Linked DNA regions of Homo sapiens: region 1 is linked to region 2. Evidence: promoter capture Hi-C in human tissues and cell types (Jung and others, 2019). All regions are on one chromosome and are shown on one strand. The core of a region is centred on a gene start or on the middle of the fragment in contact, and the rest is flanking DNA. Distances in the headings are between cores, read along the strand shown. Region 1 holds the start of PNPLA7 (patatin like domain 7, lysophospholipase). Region 2 holds the start of TMEM203 (transmembrane protein 203).

Region 1 (2,500 bases), core at 1-2,500, 340 kb before region 2:
CTGGCGGATGAGTGATCGCTCTCAGCGCGGTGGTCCCTGGCGTCTCCACTGCCCGCCACTGCCTGTGTTCGTCCGCCAGGTGGCCGGCGGTTTCCCGGGAGCCCAGTCCCCCTGAGGCCGTGAGGTGGCGTCGGGAGGTCGGGGAGGACGCGGGCCCTGGACTCGAGACGGCCGCCGCGTTGACGCCGCGACCCTGCCTTTCTTACCCCTCCGCCGGGCGCGGCTCCTCTGGGCGGAGCCGGCAACCGCGCGGGGAAAGCCCGGGACCTGCAGCCGGGAGGGCCCGGGCTGTCTGTGCTCCCCCGCAGGCCGGGCAGTGGTGTGGGGGGACTCGAGCCCTCGCGGTGCCCAAATTAATCAATAATCTTGGACCCAGCACGTCCGGCTTGCGCACTGAGCCCTCCTGCCCGGTCACCCTCGCAGGCGACCTCTCACCCCACGCGGAAGTCGCCCCCCAGCCGCACCCTCACAATCCGGATCCACCCCCTCCCCAGCTGCACCCCGTCCCCAGCGGCACCCCCACAGCCCAGATCCATCCCCTCTCCAGCTGCACGCCCTTCCCCAGCGGTACCCCCACACCCCAGATCCATCCCCTCCCCAGCTGCACCCCCTCCCCAGCGGCACCCCCACGCCCCAGATCCACCCCCTCCCCAGCTGCACCCCCTCCCCAGCGGCACCCCCACGCCCCAGATCCACCCCCTCCCCAGCTGCACCCCCTCCCCAGCGGCACCCCCACACCCCAGATCCACCCCCTCCCCAGCTGCACCCCCTCCCTAGCGGTACCCCCACTCGCCGGATCCACGCGCTCCCCAGCTGCACCCTCTCCCCAGCAGTACCCCCACACCCCAGATCCACCCCCTCCCCAGCTGCACCCACTCCCCAGCGGTACCCCTACACGCCGGATCCACCCCCTCCCCAGCTGCACCCACTCCCCAGCGGCACCCCCACACCCCAGATCCACCCCCTCCCCAGCTGCACCCACTCCCCAGCGGTACCCCTACACGCCGGATCCACCCCCTCCCCAGCTGCACCCTCCTCCCCAGCTGCATCCCCACACCCCGGATCCACGCCCCGCCAGCGTCACCTCCCCTCCAGCCGTGCTTCTCCAGAAGGCAGCGCTGCCCCCATCCCCGCCGCGCTGGGCCTGGCTCCTCTTGACCTGCTTGGATACGCCCCATCTGGCTGCTGTTCTGGGTTCCGGGACAGCCACGTGAGGGCTGTTTACAGAGGGAAGGAGGTGGCTCCTAGCAGATGACAGACACTTCTCAAAAGACAGCTTTTCTTCCTGGAGAACAGACTTTTTCAGCAGGATTTTCCTTTCAGTGAAACATAATTTGACTTGAAAGGAACCCAGGGAAAAGTGTCCAGGTGTGAGCATGAGCGGGTAGAGGTGTGCCCTTGTTTGCTTCAGGCTGTCTGCTTTTCGCCCCTGACTGTTTTTTCTGTTTCTGGCCATGGAGGAAGAGAAAGATGACAGCCCACAGGTATGTAACTCGGGGGACCAGATGCCTGGATTTCCCAGTTGGGGGGCATTTCTGGACCCAGAGAAGGGTCCTCTTGGCGTCTGCTCTGCCGCGCTCTTTGGCCCCGTGGCTTCTTGGCGCCTGAGGACTGTGGGAGTGGTGGATCTGGCCCCTCTCTGCTGCCTGTCACAGCTGCCAGCACTTGTTAGACGCGCCTGTCACAGCAGACAGCCAGTGGTGGCCCATGGGCATTGTTCACAGCGAGGGCAGCCAGCGGTGGCCCATGGGCATTGCCTGAGGCCTTGTCTTTTCTTCCCCTAAGGTCACAGTTGCTACTTCCAGTTCCTTTAGGACTTTGCCTGATGGTTTTGCTTAGAACCTTTTTCTGTGTTTTTTTTTTTCCCAAGACGGAGTCTCGCTCTGTCGCCCAGGCTGGTGTGCAATGGTGTGATCTTGGCTCACAGCAACCTCCGCCTCCTGGGTTCAGGCAATTCTGCCTCAGCCTCCCGGGTAGCTGGGACTACAGGCACCACGCCCGGCTAATTTTTGTATTCTTAGTAGAAACGGGGTTTCGCCATGTTGGCCAGGCTGGTCTTGAACTTTTTTTTTTTTTTTTTTTGAGACGGAGTCTTGCTCTGTCGCCCAAGCTGGATTGCAGTGGCACGATCTCAACTCACTGCAAGCTCTGCCTCCCAGGTTCACGCCATTCTCCTGCCTCGGCCTCCCAAGTAGCTGGGACTACAGGCGCCCACCACCACGCCCGGCTAATATTTTTTTGTATTTTCAGTAGAGACGGTGTTTCACTGTGTTAGCCAGGATGGTCTCGATTTCCTGACCTCGTGATCCGCCCGCCTTGGCCTCCCAAAGTGCAGGGATTACAGGCATGAGCCACCGTGCCCGGCCTAGTCTTGAACTCTTGACCTCATGATCTGCCCGCCTCGGCCTCCCAAAGTGCTGGGATTACAGGCGTGAGACACTGTGCCCAGCCCTAGAATCTTTTTCTTAGTCAAACATCTGTAGCCACATGGCAAAGGCCT
Region 2 (5,521 bases), core at 2,683-5,182:
CACAGCCTCTTCAAGGAGCTCCCAGTTCCCGCTGTGGGCATTAGCTGCCCCCTCCAACTCCTGGTCTTCTCTGTGGGTGCCCACACTTGGGACTCTTCGTTTCCTCGTTGACCTGAATCCCGGCATTAGCACCAGCTTCCTGCCACTGGCTGACTGAATGCCCAGCCCAGCCTCAGTCCCTCTCCTCTCCCATGCTCTGGGGCTTCCCTATCCCACCATTCCCCTCCCGTGCCTGTGCTCCACTCTGAAACCCCTTCTCTTCCATCCCACTCTATCTGAGACCCCTCGACCTATGTTCAGCTCTCCCCCAAGCCGCTGCACATCCCCTGCCATACCTACTCAGTCTTCAGCCTCTTTCTCCTGTCTCTCCCCTGCCAGCAATTAAACATGCCAAGTTTTGGCCGGGTGTGGTGGCTCACGCCTGTAATCCCACCACTTTGGGAGGCTGAGGCAGGTGGATCACGAGGTCAGGAGATTGAGATCATCCTGGCTAACACGGTGAAACCCGATCTCTACTAAAAAAATACAAAAAATTAGCTGGGCGTGGTGGCGGCGCCTGTAGTCCCATCTACTTGGGAGGCTGAGGCGGGAGAATGGCGCGAACCCGGGAGGCAGTGCTTGCAGTGAGCTGGGATCAACGCCACTGTACTCCAGCCTGGGCGACAGAGCGAGACTCCGTCTCAAAACAAACCAACAACAACAACAACAAACAACAACAAAAAAAACATGTCAAGTTTCTCCCGTCTTTTTTTTTTTGAGACAGGGTCTTGCTCTGTCGCCCAGGCTGGAGTGTAGTGGTGTGATCACAGCTCACTGCAGCTTTAACCTCCCAAGTTCAAGAGCTCCTCCCGCCTCAGCCTCTGGAGTAACTGTGATCACAGGCATGAGCCACTGCACCAGTTCACTTTGAATTTTCTGTCTCATGATGCTGCCCAGTCTGGTCTTGAACTCCTGGGCTCAAGCGATCCTCCCACCTCGGCCTCCCAAATTGCTGGGATTACAGGCATGAGCCACTGTGCCCGGCAAACGTCTCTCATAAAAAACTCCTTCTTTTTAACTCTTTAGCCTTTTCACAGCCAGATGTGGTTTTTTGTTTGTTTGTTTTGTTTTTTGTCTTTTTTTTGTTTTTGAGACGGAGTCTCGCTCTGTCGCCCAGGCTGGAGTGCAGTGGCGCGATCTCGGCTCACTGCAAGTTCCGCCTCCCGGGTTCACGCCATTCTCCTGCCTCAGCCTCCCGAGTAGCTGGGACTACAGGTGCCCGCCACCACATCCGGCTAGTTTTTTGTATTTTTAGTAGAGACGAGGTTTCACACCGTGTTAGCCAGGATGGTCTCGATCTCCTGACCTCGTGATCTGCCTGCCTCGGCCTCCCAAAGTGCTAGGATTACAGGTGTGAGCCACAGTGCCCGGCTCTTTTTCTTTTTTTTTTTTTTTTTGACAGAGTCTAGCTCTGTCACCAGTCTGGAGTGCAGTGGCGCAATCTCAGCTCACTGCAACTTCCGACTCCCTGGTCTAAGTGATTCTCCTGCCTCAGCCTCCCGAGTAGCTGGGATTACAGGCACGCACCACTGCGCCGTGCCCAGCTAATTGTTGTAATTTTAGTAGAGACGGGTTTCACCATGTTGGCCAGGCTGGTCTCGAACTCCTGACCTCGTGATTCGCCCGCCTCGGCCTCCCAAAGTGCTGAGATTACAGGCGTGAGCCACCGCAGCCGGCCCGCACTCAAGACATTCTTAAAAGATGCTCTCCACTCACTCTCTCAGTTGCTGATCTCCTGTAATCTGGCTTCTCTCCCCATGAGCCACTGAAGCTGCTCTTCCTGGTATCACCAACAATCCCTTTGCCAAGAAATCCCATGGATCCCTCTCAGGCTTTATCTGATTTGACTTCTGTGCAGCTTTACATGCCAGAGCCCTTCCTGGAACACTCACTCCCCCAGTCCTCTCCTTGGGGTGCTGCACCCTCTCTTCTAGCTGCTTGGTCACTCTCCTGCCCTCCTGGGCTCTAACGTTCTGGGCAGCCTGTCCTGTGGGGAGAGAGGAGCTTCCTCTTCTCACACTTCTGTATTGTGGCTACCTCAACACCTATCTCCGCCCCAGGATCTTCCTTGGAGCGCTAGTCCTACTGCACTTCTCCACTTCAATGTCTCCAGGTTCCCTTCCTGCACAGCCCCCTACTCCCACCGTGTTCTCTGATTTCTGTGGATGGAACCACCATCCATCTTGGTTCCAGAGCCCACATCCCTGTCTCGATTCTGCTTGACCTATTGGGTCCGTTCCATGTCCCGGGGACTCTCTCTTCCTGACACCACTGCAATGTGTCCACTTCTATCTTCTGCCACCACTTCAGCTCAGATCGGTAGCATCTGCTGCCTGTCCTGTGCATCTCATGGCATTATTCCTGCTGTCCTGCAGACCAGTGCGGTTTTGCTAGCTTAGGAACATGACTGTGTCACCCCTACAGTTCCGACAACCCTTCATTTCAAGCCCATCTGCCTTGCTGTGGTTACTCAGGCTCTTTGGACTGGGCCTGGCTTCCTGCCTCTCTTCTCCTCCCCTCTTGCCCCAGTGTACTCCTCAGCTTGGCCACCCTGAGCTGCTTTCCACTTTTCACACAAACCAAATCATCTTTTTCCTCTGCGCTGACTGCTCCTTCTTCCTCGGTGCCTGACTAGCCCTCACGCATCCTTCCGTGACTCAGCTTACACTCTTTTCTTCCAGAAACCTCTGCCTGGGCCCCAAGGTTGGGTGAGATAAGGCTCGATGCCCCTTATCAGTGCTCCTGTGACATATGCTACTTTCCCCAGCAGCAGGTGTTTGCTGGCACTGTCATTGCCCGTTAGCTGCTTCTGCTACAGTGTGAACTCTGCCAGGATGGAAATATGGCTGCTGGGTTCACAGCTGGATCCCCAGCACCAGACTGTGCCAAGAATAGAATATGTGCTTAAAAGATGGTCAGAGAATTCAGCAACGTTCCCTGAGGGTCATACAGTCTAGAAATACACACAAGACCCAGACTAGATGCACATATAGATAGCCCTGGAAAAATAAGAAAGGTTAAAACGGATAATAAGGCTATTTGGTGGCTACGACGAGTTTATTAGAGAGGGCAACCGGAGCCCCCAGCCCCACTCACGGACGTTCTCTCAAATCCACCTCTGAAGGTGCATGAGATAAAGGAGAGCTATTTACTGCACCTAGACGCCAGGCAATGAAAACGGGGTGAGGGTCGAGGGCAGGGATCTGAGGAGCCACATCAGGCCAGCCTTACCTTCATGTTGTCAGGGGGGTCTCCTTGGCCTGTAGTTGCACAAACAAATATCACCAGGGGCTCGTTAATCAGATTCACCTCAACAAAAAGACACACACACGTAAGACCTCCGGCTGTAAGGACCGGGCGTCCTTCCCAAAACTTGACCCCCTTCTCCTTTACTCAGGCTGACAGGGCAGAGGGATTTATGTGAGCAGCCAGACCGTCTTCTCTTTCAGGTTCCAACCTCCTCCAGGTGCTAAACTGAACTCCCCTTCCCAAACCTCCTTCCCTAAATCCGCCATAAGGGAAAGACCCGCTCTCAGAGAAAATGCGACGCCTTTTGGGTCGATGACCCCGCGAGGCGGGCACGCCAGGCCTGCTCGTCCCCCACGCCGAGGCCCTAGCGAGCCCTCACCACCGGGTAGGAGTCCAGGGCCTGCACCCGGCAGCCAAGCCGCCGGCGCCGGGCCTCGCGACCCAGTCTCTCCGACACATCCTGAGCCGTGCCTGTCTGGCTGCCGAAGAGCACCAGAAGCTGCGGGCTCGGCATCGGGGTGCGCCCGGTGGTCTGGTCTGAGACTAAAAACTAGAAGGCAGTTCCCGCCGGCCGGGTTGCAGGGACCGCTCCGCCTTCCGCCTTCCGCCGTCGACCGGAAGTGACGCACTAGGGACGCGCCCTGTGGGGGCATGGCGTCCGATCGAGGCGGGCGTTCACGGGCGGCCAGGGTTGAGTCCCGGGTCGGGGCCGGGGGATTGCCGGCGCATCAGGGCCGAGGGCTGGGGCTGGCGGGGCCGCTCGCTGCCTCTCGCTCGCAGCAGCGGCGGCAGGCGCGGGCGAGGGCCACGGGGAGAGGAGACGCAGCCCCGCGGGTGGCACGCTCGGCCGGGCCCCGGCCCGCGCTCAACGGGCGCGATGCTCTTCTCGCTCCGGGAGCTGGTGCAGTGGCTAGGCTTCGCCACCTTCGAGATCTTCGTGCACCTGCTGGCCCTGTTGGTGTTCTCTGTGCTGCTGGCACTGCGTGTGGATGGCCTGGTCCCGGGCCTCTCCTGGTGGAACGTGTTCGTGCCTTTCTTCGCCGCTGACGGGCTCAGCACCTACTTCACCACCATCGTGTCCGTGCGCCTCTTCCAGGATGGAGAGAAGCGGCTGGCGGTGCTCCGCCTTTTCTGGGTACTTACGGTCCTGAGTCTCAAGTTCGTCTTCGAGATGCTGTTGTGCCAGAAGCTGGCGGAGCAGACTCGGGAGCTCTGGTTCGGCCTCATTACGTCCCCGCTCTTCATTCTCCTGCAGCTGCTCATGATCCGCGCCTGTCGGGTCAACTAGCCTCACCGAGGTGCCGGAGAGGGAGCGCTGGACAACTAGAATGTTGACCTCGAGCCGAGGCCCTACTTGCAGCGCACCGGAGGAGAGGCTCTCTAGTCTGAAGGCACCGCCGGCTTGCGCCGAGCTGAGTGCCGGGTTTCCCTATTCCAATCCTGTTTGAAATGGTTTCTTCAGCAGGGCTTAAAAGAGCAGCCTTCATCCTGAAAATGTATTTCCTTTTGTTTAATGCTTTGAGTAGATAATCCTGAATTGAGGTCATGAGGAGGCCCCCCAGGCCAGACAGTCCTGAACCCCTCTGACACTTGGAAACTGAATATAAGTAAAATGTCCAGGTGGACTCTGAGTATTTCCTGTGGATCCTGGGAAAGTACTGTTGCACAAAGGCTGCAAAGCTGGACTCAGGAATGTCCTCCAACCAGCAGCGCTGACCTAAGAGCTCCCTGTGCCGTCTATCCAGACCAGACTTCGGTAGATGCCTTTGTTAGATCTATCACATGTAAACGAGCTTGTATCTCCTTCCCTGTGCCACGAGAGAGATTGGCTTTTTATTCCAGTCTAGGCAGAGACAGAAGAATGTTGAATAAGAGCACGATTAGAGTCCTGTCTGGTTATCTGTTGCCCAAGAAAAGAACTCTGCTGTCCAGGCACTGCTTGGCTTACTATCCCAGCAAAGACTGCAGTTTTGTGGACTTTTGACCACCTTGGGCTGGCACTCTTAGCACACCTGAGACAGATTTAAGCCTCCCTAAGAGACTGAAGAGAGGAACAGGTGTCAGATACTCATAGGCACTGAGATCTACAAATGGGAAGCTTGTGAGTGGCCCATCTTTGTTGGCCTACGAACTTTGGTTTGATGCCAGTCAGGTGCCACATGAGAACCTTTGCTGAGATGCAAATAAAGTAAGAGAATGTTTTCCTGAAATGAATAGTGGTTGCCTGTAACCC

Evidence for each region. The method cuts DNA at HindIII sites, captures the fragments that hold promoters and counts their contacts. A contact is called where the count stands out against the background at its distance.
Region 1: a contact is called between the fragment with the promoter of PNPLA7 here and the fragment with the promoter of TMEM203 in region 2, in 2 of the 25 tissues and cell types used here (dorsolateral prefrontal cortex and pancreas).

Annotation. Positions count from the first base shown.
Region 1 is chr9:137,549,152-137,551,651 of GRCh38, reverse strand. It overlaps PNPLA7 (patatin like domain 7, lysophospholipase), which reads left to right and starts at 1,250. Exons shown (of 35, transcript NM_001098537.3): 1 at 1,250-1,484. The coding sequence starts at 1,455. RefSeq lists a silencer at 1-451 and an enhancer at 1,640-2,141. The HindIII fragment of the contact is 18,703 bases long and covers 1-2,500 here.
Region 2 is chr9:137,204,059-137,209,579 of GRCh38, reverse strand. TMEM203 (transmembrane protein 203) reads left to right here and starts at 3,932. Exons shown (of 1, transcript NM_053045.2): 1 at 3,932-5,498. The coding sequence starts at 4,166. The coding sequence ends at 4,576. It overlaps NDOR1 (NADPH dependent diflavin oxidoreductase 1), which reads right to left and starts at 3,880. Exons shown (of 14, transcript NM_014434.4): 1 at 3,668-3,880; 2 at 3,271-3,348. The coding sequence starts at 3,802. RefSeq lists a silencer at 3,917-4,176. The HindIII fragment of the contact is 14,043 bases long and covers 1-5,521 here.